2 separate regions of the Homo sapiens genome follow, and region 1 is linked to region 2. The links are contacts of gene promoters, found by promoter capture Hi-C in blood cells and fetal thymus (Javierre and others, 2016). All regions are on one chromosome and are shown on one strand. The core of a region is centred on a gene start or on the middle of the fragment in contact, and the rest is flanking DNA. Distances in the headings are between cores, read along the strand shown.

Region 1 (4,675 bases), core at 662-3,161, 250 kb after region 2:
GTAGTGGTAGAATTTGTTTCTTTTTTTAGGACAGTTCTGCCCCACATTTTTAACCATTGTTCTTGGAAGTTTAGCATCAACATGAACTACATAATATTCATTGTCAGTTTTGTAGTTTGCAACTGACAACCCTGAGTAGTACAGTGACAAATACCAAAAGCATAGCCAAAGAACTTCTGTGCCATGGCACGCCTGTAATCCCAGCATTTTGGGAGGCTGAGGTGGGTGGAATGCTTGAGCTCAGGAGTTTGAGACCAAGCTGGGCAACATGGCAAAATCCCATCTCTACAAAAAAAAAATACAAAAATTAGCCAGGTGTGGTGGCACATGCCTGTGGTCCCAGCTACTCTGGAGGCTGAGGTGGGAGGATCACTTGAACCTGAGAGGTGGAGGTTGCAGTGAGGTGACATTACACCGCTACACTCTAGCCTGGGTGACAGAGTGAGACTCTGTCTCAAAAAAAAAAAAAAACTTCAAAATGGTTACCTTTGGGAGTGAAAATGTGGGGCAGGGAAGGTAGATCAGGTAACTACTGGTTTTCATTATAAGCCTTTTAAAACTATTTGACTAACTACATATGTATACACACACACACACACACACACACATATGTTCAGAAATGCAAGGCCAGGTCTATAAGAAATTGAGTATTTTTGCCTGCACATACACACACACACAGACACACACACACACATGACTATATATATATAAAAAATATATATATAGTCAAAAAGAGATATATATATATATATTTATATATGTCTTATAAAATTTAAAATTGAAACAAAAAGAAAGAAAACAAAGGGACAATGAGGACTATATATATATATAGTCAAAAAGATATATATGTATTTATATATGTCTTATAAAATTTAAAATTGAAACAAAAAGAAAGAAAACAAAGGGACAATGAGGACAATCTTTTGGTGAGAGTAAATGCGCCACATGGGTGCTACCTCACTGTTTTTTTTTCTCTGTGGGAGACATTACTAATTGATAAGAACTCTCTCTCTCTGGAGCCTGGAGACAGACTCAATACTTCCCAGAATCCAGTTTTAGGCATATAAGATTTGGGTCCTCAGAAGAAAACCATTTGCCATTCTTGGCCTAAGAGGAAATAATCCTTTACAGGCCTGCCCTTGCGTTTCTGAACTTAAGTGAAAAAAGCCCAAAATATGTTTTATGGTACACCAAACTAGAACATATATCCCTGTATACCTAACTCTGAAAACCAACTTAATTAAAGGATGATAGTCACTACTGTAGAACTCTAGCATTCCAGTGAAATTGCTACAGTTGAAAAAAGCCATTTAGAATTTAAAAAATATTCTCAACATTAACATAAAGATATACTTCAAAGCTTTACAGCACCACGATTAACAGAATTTTATTGCTGAGAGTTTTCAAAATAGTGTATATCTCTTCTCTAGCAGTATTGGCATATAACTTCATAAGAAAATCATTTTCCTTCAGGTCAGTATATAGTTAATTCACATTTCGAGATGAGGCTACCATGACAACATGACAACTTAATGAGGTTTGAACAGCTTCAGAAAAGGGATTACTAAAAGGAAGAGAAAAGAAAAACCTTGTGATAGAAAAATAGAATACCAGAATTATCTGGATGATGTTTAACAGCCATCTACAAGGACTTATTGTCACTCTTTTATCATGGCTTCCTCTCTCTGTTTTCATTTCAACTACTGCAGTGGTAGGATTATTTGTTCTTTGATGAAAATGAGTTGTTGTACAAGATTCAAGAAGAACACTTGTTCCCATCAAGCACAGGATCTGTTAAAATCTCCTGACATTTTTCAATGGCACTTTCATATTTCCTGGAATTTGATTATAACTGCCTCATCATTATATGGATCACATGGCTAATGTGCAAGGGCAAAAGGTTATAGCATGAATTTTCTGGCCCCTCAAAGTCTCAAAGGAGATGATAGTTCAGGCCATGAGAGGAAGACCTAGGCAGTGTGTGGTAAATGAGATATGGAACAATGTGGAGTAATGGTACAATGTTCGAAAAAGCACCAGAAGGCCTAGGACCCCAAATTCTGCCAAACCAATGGTGTGACACTGGTTAAATCACTTATCCTCTGAGTCCCATTTCTTTCATCTGTAAAATGATATGGGCAGGTTCAGTGATCTGTAAGATAACTTCATTGCACCAAATTTCCTCAATACTGATGTGGCATATTTTACAACTTTTAGAATTCCTATAAATAGTGTTTAAACATAGAAAGAATACGGATAGACTACCCTGTATTCTCTTAGAAAAATCAAAAAGCATGACCGGTGTTAAGAGCAGTGCCAAGGTAGGTTCAGAATACATAGGAATCCATTTGGGTAATTTGAGGCTGGAACAATTACATCTAGTCAGAGAAAGGCATTAAGAAGCTGCGTATCATTTAGAAAATATTGCTCTAGAGACTATCTGTGTACAGAATAAAGCTTCAAGAAAAATGAAACAACAAAAGATAGGCAGACTCGTGAGGTCCCCTAGTTGTCAGAGAACCAGGCTCCTTCTTGTTTACTGTGTGGACCTCACTCAACATTTGCACAAGATGGCTGCTGGAGCCCAAGGTGTTGAGCTGGTGTGTTCCAGGCAGCAGGTTATGGAAAGGGTCCAAGAGGGACAGTGCATGCACTCCATGAAATTCCATTTATGTCTTATTCTCTAAATGAGGTAATTTGACCACATGTAGCTGCAAGAAGACTGGAAAATGGAATTTTTGCATGAACAACGGTGTATCTAGCTAAAAGCTACTGTTTTATTACCATACATGGGGAGGGAGAAATTAGCACTTCCTGACACGGTACTGGAGCGATGAAGCAGCGTGGCAGGATGAGGCTGAGAGCAAAGTTGTCTGTCAATGCTTGAAGGAGGAAGCAAAACCAAGTTGAATTGTGCAGACAATAATGATCACAAAGACAAGGCCATGCTTGGGCTTTCACTAATGTGTTTGCCTTGTCCCATAAAGATCTGTACACATGTGCACACACACACAGACATATACTTGAGTGTACACACTACACAATGGGTCAAAAATATAGTACAGCTCTAGATCAGTCACAGAGATTAATAATAAACATGAAGCAACTCCGTCAATTCTAAAATTCAGACAGTTCAGCTTTCTCTTTATTAATAAAACCAGAAACATCCTTATAAATATTTTTAAACATAAACTCTGTGCTATGCTCCCTACAAAAGTATTCAAGCTCAGAGGAACTCTGAATGCTCTATGATGTCAAAGGATGTCTGACGATTTGGGAATTTTTTAATAACTAAGACTTAAATAGTTGAAGGGATAGTCAAACTAAATTTAGCCATTAAATTACTACATTTCAGACACTGTGTGTGTCTGTCAGTCAGAGATTACTTTTCAGATTCCCAGAAGAACAGGTCATTAAAATAAATATTCCAGAGGGTTTTAACATCAGCAAAAAACAAACTTATGAAATCTATGACACTGTTAGATTTCCATCTGTTCCAGGAGCTGTTAACGATGCATGTGGGGTTATCCAGGCATTATTTCAAAATAATGTGAATTTTAAGGACCGTTAATCATCTGCAGACTCACTATGGGAGAAGGACACGTGCCAGGTGCAGTACAGCAGATGCTGTCCGCAATTTACCAGGATCATGTCACAATTCATTCACATTATGGCAGTCTGGTGTTCAAAATCTGCTCTAAACTAGACAAACATATGCTGGATGGCTGCTAGGTAAGCATGTTTCTCAAGGTAATGAATTATACCTAGCAAGTTTCCAGATAAATTAACTTATTCCTGATCTGCAAGAATCATTTGGAATTGTCTCTGGACATCCATGTCAAAATCTTAAAGTTCTAGACAACAGACTAAGATGAAACTCACAGGCTTGCCAGGACCATGACAGAGTATTTCACATTTGATGCTAATATATTGTAAAATACAAGCTAATGAATTACAAATGGTGTCACACAGTCTTTGCACATTGTCATATTAATTCAAGATTTCAGAATTTTAAAAGCATTTTCAATATGATTCAAGTGTATAAATATTAAGGAGGCATTAACCTTTATCAAAATGATTTTTTCTTGTGTTAAAAAGTTCAAAATTTAACATAAAAGGGCACACAATTTGACTTTGCTGTAATGTGGTTGATGAAAGTAACAGTATCTGCCCCCACATTATTCATGTAAAAACTGTGAAACCTTTCATTTACACTTCTTTGGCACTGGTGGGAGTGGTAATAGGAGTTGTGGGAGAAAGAGGAATGTGGTAAAAAGTGAGAAAAGAGTAAATTGAAGGATGTCAGTTCTTTGATTAACATTCTACTTGTCATCCTTTAGCAGAGAATAACAAAACCCTGCAGGCACTAAATAAAATGAGCCTTAGAGAGCTTTCTCATCCCTGACAACCTAGAGTTTGTGTCAATTTGGAGTCACTGATGCAAACATTTTGTTCAAATATTTTATTTGTTTTCTACCCACATGGCATCAACAAGAATGTTTTCAAGGTCAAGTGAATATCTTGAGAAGTCAAAATGTGGGATTTCATGAACTGGCTTCCCTGCAACTGATCAGTGACCTTGGTGAAACCAATTGAGGCTTAAGCTCAAGTCCTCAGATCAGTGATTCACTTACACAGCTATCAATTCTCTTAAAAGAGAAAGAAAAATAAAAGC
Region 2 (5,381 bases), core at 219-2,718:
AATATCTTTGTGTTTCAGGTATTTCCTTATTTCCTTCACAGACCGGATCATGAATGATCTCCCAATGTGACAAGGTCTTATTCTCCACAGTTTACCGTTGAGGGGACTGAGGTGCAGAAAGCCCAAGGTGTATGCAGCCCAATCCCCTCTGATCCCACTCTACTGCATTGCTGCCTTTTGTACGCAGCAGGAAGGACACTTCCTGTAAAAATGAAAAAAAAAGCCTTAAGTTGTTTGAGAGAGGGTCAGGAAGAAAACAGGAAGAGCCAGTAGACTGCAGGTGCTTTCAAAGGGCTCCCTGTCTTTGACATCCCTAAAATAAAAACTTGTTAATTAAGAGATTGGCCACAGAAATCCAGGTGGAAAACCTGCAGAAGAGTGGGTTCCACAATTCTTCAAAACAGAACAAAAAAACCCCAAGACTTGTTATATTTTTACCGGTGGAGGGGAAGAGGTTACAGGAGTGGCCTTGCTCCCCGGGCTGGCCTTGCTGAGCAGGTGACAATACCACACATATAAAGGTTTTAAGGTGAAAAGGTAGTCAATATTTTACATTTCGAAGATAGTTTTTAAAATCACCTACTGCATCAGTAGTAATACAACAATAACTACCATTTACATACCACCGCACACATCGGGGCTGCGTAAAGAACTTTATAGTGCACCATCTCAATTAATTCTCACAACTCTGTGAAGTAGGTTTTATTATTCTTAATTTATAGACGTGTTCACTGTGGGCCAGGGAGATGAGCTTTCCCGCGATTGCCCAGCTTTTAAGAGGTAGATCTCAAACCTAAACGTGTTTGACCAAAAGCCCTGAATAACATTTAGCCGTGGGCCTCTTGCGGATTTGGCGCTGGTCCGAGGTGGGGAATTGTGAATCTCATTTATTTATGCTGAGCTGCGCACACATATGCACGTGTAAGTTACAAAAAACAAATCCAGGTCAGGATCTCTGTCCGCTTGAGGTTTCAAAGCCTACTTGGGTAGACAGCGGTAAAAGTCTCAACTCATTCATCTACTCGTTTGCTCTCTTCACAAGTATTTATTGCGCACTTCAGTATTCCAGACAGGGCGCTAACCTTGCCCTGGAGGAGAGAATGGTGAACACAACAGACATGGCGTTTGCCTCCAACTATCCCCTTTCCGATTCTGCTATCTCACGGGCGAGGCGTTCAAAGAAGCAGGAAATATATCAACAAGGGGGTGACTTAAGCACCCGCTGCGCGGGAGCCGGAGGAAGCGCGCTGAGCCTGCAGAGGTGGTCAGGGCGAACTTCCTGGAGGCAGCGGCAGCAGCAGGCCGGGCGAGAACCCAGGTCGCTCGGAAGCGACAGTCTGAGCCGGGAACGGGGAAGAGGGGGCGGGAGCCGAGGCCCGGGCGGGGGCAGCCAGCGAGTTAGGGTTAGGACGGGAGGATTCGGCTTCCCGGCGGCAGAGGGCGCCTGGCGCTGCGGTCTGGCGCGCCAGAGTCGCCCGCGCGGGCGCCGAGAGGAGAGGCGAGGCGGGGAGCGCAAGCGGCGGCGGCCACTGCCACGTATTCCCGGCAGTGGTGGCGGCGGCGGCGGCGGCGCCCGCGGGCAGGTGGGCTGGGAGCGGCGCGGCGGCGGCGGCGGCGGGGCGGGCGAGCCGGCGGGCGGGCGCGGGGCACGGGGCACCGGGCACCGGGCGGGGGTGCGGCGCCGGGACAGTACGGTTCCCGCCACGCCGGCTCCGCCTCCGCGCAGTGCTGCTGACCCAGGCCTGGGCGCCCGGCGGGTCCCGAGCGCAACTCGTGCGGGCGGGGTTGGGGGCCCGAGGGACTCGAGCTCGCCTGCCCGTCGCGGCTCGAGACGCTGCATCCCGGTTGCTGCGGGGCGGGGGCTGGGAAAAGTTGGGGCGGACCGCGAGCCCGCGGGGCCGGGCGGGAAGTGCGGGTGCGGGGCGGACTCAGGGGCCGGGGGACGCAGTGCAAAGGGCTTGGGCCGGGGCGGCCGGGAGGGCCCCGTATGGGAAGGTGGGAAACGCGGGTCCTTTGAGGACGCCGAGAAAGGGGTGCGCTCAGGGTCTCTGGGAGTGGACAAGAGTCCGGCGGCGGACCTTGCGGGTGAGAAGGGTCGGCGCCTGGGGGTCGGGGAGTAGAGGTGAGGCGGGGGCGGGATAGAGCCTTCCTCCTCCCCCGTTCTTTCGGGACCGACCCTGAGACCCGGGGCAGGCTCCGAGCTGGGTACGCCTCTGGCATCTGAAGACCCAGTGGGGAGTTCCTGTACGGGGTGGGTGGAGGAGGGAGCTGAGCGTTGCTTCCTCTGCTGCTGGGGCCGACTACCGCCCCTCCCCAGCGGCCAGATTCACCTCAGACTGCAGTGCTTTTGCCCTGAGGAAGTTGAGGAGGGACAGCTGAGCGGATGAGATGTTTGGGGTGTTCCAAGATGAGTGGGATTAGGCTGCATGATATCATAACTATCTCCGGGAGCTGTCAGAAAACACTCCCATGTCCTCATACACCCACCCATCCACTCATCCAGTCAGTACTGCCAAGCTCCAGGCTCCCTTGCTCTTTAAGTGACACCTCTAGATCCCCAGAGCCCAACAGCGCATCTGCTCACAGCCTCGAGGGTGGCAAGGGTGGAAGACATGGCCTGCTAGTGTCTGCGTAGGTTGGTGCTTTCAGAAACAAGTGGTTCTGGAGGTGCTGGATGCTTTATTAGAACAACCTGTGTGGAGCCCGTTGACAATGCAGATGACTCATGTTGGCTTTTTTTTTTTCCCCTTTACAAATAAACTTTGTATTCAAGACACCAGTATGCCTGGTCATTTGCAGCAGTGATACGGCAAGAGACCCATAGTGGGCTTCTTGAGCCCTTATTCTCGTCCTAGATGTGTTAGCAAGAAGTTTGACCTTGGATGAGTCACTTGCTCTCTCTGGACTTCTGTTTTCTTATCTGTCACATGGGGTATAAAGAGAGAGCTCGACAGTGTGATGTAGACAGGAGTAGGTTTCTGAGGGACACAGTGAAATCTTTTTTCTTGTAAGGCTGGATCAGCCACAGAAAATAAGCCTTAGCCTGTTCTTATAAAGAAATTAGCTTAGATTTAAAATAAAATATGAGAAGAAATATTGCAAAAAGCAAAACAACAAAAAACTAATAGTAGTTGGTACTCGATTTACAACATGAATACTGTTCTTATGCTTGCAGTTAGTGTACTTGGTTGTCCAGCTATCTACTATAAAGTTGCTCATTGTGCTTAGAAAGTGTGTATTTCACCTGTGGACCCGAATTTTTTCTTATTGTTTAATCTTCAAGCTTGGAGTGGACGCTCAAGCTTGGAGTTGGATTGGTCCTGCTGGGGTTTGTCTGAAGAACATCCTCAGGGTCTCTCATTGCATAATATTATAGGTTTCCTTCTGTCTGACTGATGCTGGGGTCCTTGTACAACTATGCTTCTGCCATCTTTTCCATTCTGGCTTGAGAAGTGGTGAGCTGGTTCCTCTTGCCTCTGGCATGCCCAGACTTCTCATTTCTTTTCAGATGAGTGTAGTAAAAGGCAAGCAGTGAGTTAGAGGCAGCACATTAAAAATTGCTCCAGGCAATCATCTGTGTCCCCTCCACCCCGCTCCTGTCCCCTAGACCCCCTGGGCAACTTCTCACTAGAGCTTCCTGGTCATAAGCTGGCCTTGACATTTTGGGTGCTGAGGGCCATCACAGCATTGAAGTGACTTGGCCAGGGTCACACCACACATTAATGATCAAGCCATGGTGCTGGAAGAAGAGGAATTTTTTTTGTGTGTGTATTTTGTCATAACTGAATGTTCCTGTTCTTGTCCATTAGTAGCTTTCAAAATCCATATTGGGTTTGACCACATCATTTTCAGTAATCCTTTTTTGTCAGCTTTTTGGAAGCTGCAGTTAGTGGTTCTCTCTGAGTTTGAGGTAGTGGTATTTTATTATTAAACAATTTTTTCCAAATATTTTTTAAACTACTTTCCTTTTCAGACCAGATGAGGTAGTGTTAAAAATGATATCTTCTCCAACAAGTAAAGGCTTGATTAATTAGGTTGAGTCTTTAAAATATCTAGTGTTTGTGTGTGTATAAATTTTACTTTAATTGAGAAGTATTGATAAAAATCATAATCGTCACCATTTGAGCCCCTGCCATTGAGCAGGCATTGTGAGGTAGGAGTGAGCATCATTTTACAGGAGAGAAAACAAAGCCAAGAGATGGCACGACTCTGGTACAGCTGTCGTGCATAAGTTACTGATGATCTTTCAATCCATGTACCATTTTGTTAACAGTGGAAAAGGAATTCTCAGCTATCCTACAGGGTTGTGCTAGTTAAATGAGATACTGTATGTGAAGAGCAACAAGTAAACTCTTAACGGGCTCCCTAACCCAGCACATTTTAACATAAACACTTGTAGACTCTGGAAGCAGTGTGGTGAAGTGGTTAAGTTCAAGCGTCTTGGGAGTCTGGCAGGCCTGGGTGTAAATACTGAACCTGCTGCCTGACCTCTCTGAGCCTGGTTTCCACATGTGTAAAATCAGGATAATACTGTCTGTCTTATATTCAAGAAATGTACCCACTAATTGCAGTGGGTGCTGAGTAAAGATTGGCATCCACTCCTTTCCCTTGCACACAGGTACTTGGGTCAATGGGATTGAGTAAGTCTTTCAGCAGTTGTCCTCAGGGGGAAAAGGCTTAAAGTACTTTTTGTACTTATCAATGATTCTTCTAGCCTTTTTGCCTTCCCACCCTAAGCCCCAGCACGCGCAATGAATATTCCAGGGCCTGTGATTGTCTTGTCCAAGGGAATTGAAAAAATCGTAAGCCAGAAAGGACAGGTCTTTGATAGAAAGTTGAAAATGGATGTAGCTGGTTTCCCTTTGCCCATTTTGTGGCCTTCCTCCTTTTTTTTTTTTTTAAATTAATTTTGTTGGACAGGGAAAAGATACAGAATTCAGGGGGTTCTAGCTGGAAGGGGGCCCTGGAAGAGCCTATAGTATAGGGCAGCTAGAGAGAGGAGTGGGCTGGCTGACGGTCAAAGCTAGTTTGGTGTGGGGGAAATTTCTGTTAGATGCAGGATTTGGCTTAATATGGGACCAATTTCCATCTAGTCCTTTAAGGCCCTCTTTTGGGACTCTGAAGTTTTTGTGCTCCAGGCAGATTTTGACTGGTTGTGGTGGCATCACAAATGAGTTTCCATAGTAAATTGTATGCTGAAAGGAAATTAAATTCCAAGAGGGTGTTTGTTGTGACTGATGCCAGAATTTCCTCTGAGAATTTTATTAACATTCAGTCTGTGAAAGTACTTCTTAGTTCTCTGAAGATAATAATTAGGAAATAGTTTTTAAAAAGTAGAAGTGTCGTCTTTGTGAGCTTTTGAAATGTCATCTTCCTAAATC

Evidence for each region. The method cuts DNA at HindIII sites, captures the fragments that hold promoters and counts their contacts. A CHiCAGO score of 5 or more calls a contact.
Region 1: a fragment that was not itself captured here is called in contact with the fragment with the promoter of SMCO4 in region 2 in 2 of 17 cell types (endothelial precursors and megakaryocytes); the score reaches 6.1 in endothelial precursors.

What each region holds. Positions count from the first base shown.
Region 1 is chr11:93,295,329-93,300,003 of GRCh38, reverse strand. No RefSeq gene overlaps it. Among named protein-coding and RNA genes, the nearest start is that of DEUP1, 33 kb to the left of the region's middle. The HindIII fragment of the contact is 1,097 bases long and covers 1,363-2,459 here.
Region 2 is chr11:93,539,478-93,544,858 of GRCh38, reverse strand. SMCO4 (single-pass membrane protein with coiled-coil domains 4) reads left to right here and starts at 1,468. Exons shown (of 3, transcript NM_020179.3): 1 at 1,468-1,583. RefSeq lists silencers at 1,268-1,397, 1,558-1,607, 1,738-1,977. The HindIII fragment of the contact is 4,665 bases long and covers 1-3,285 here.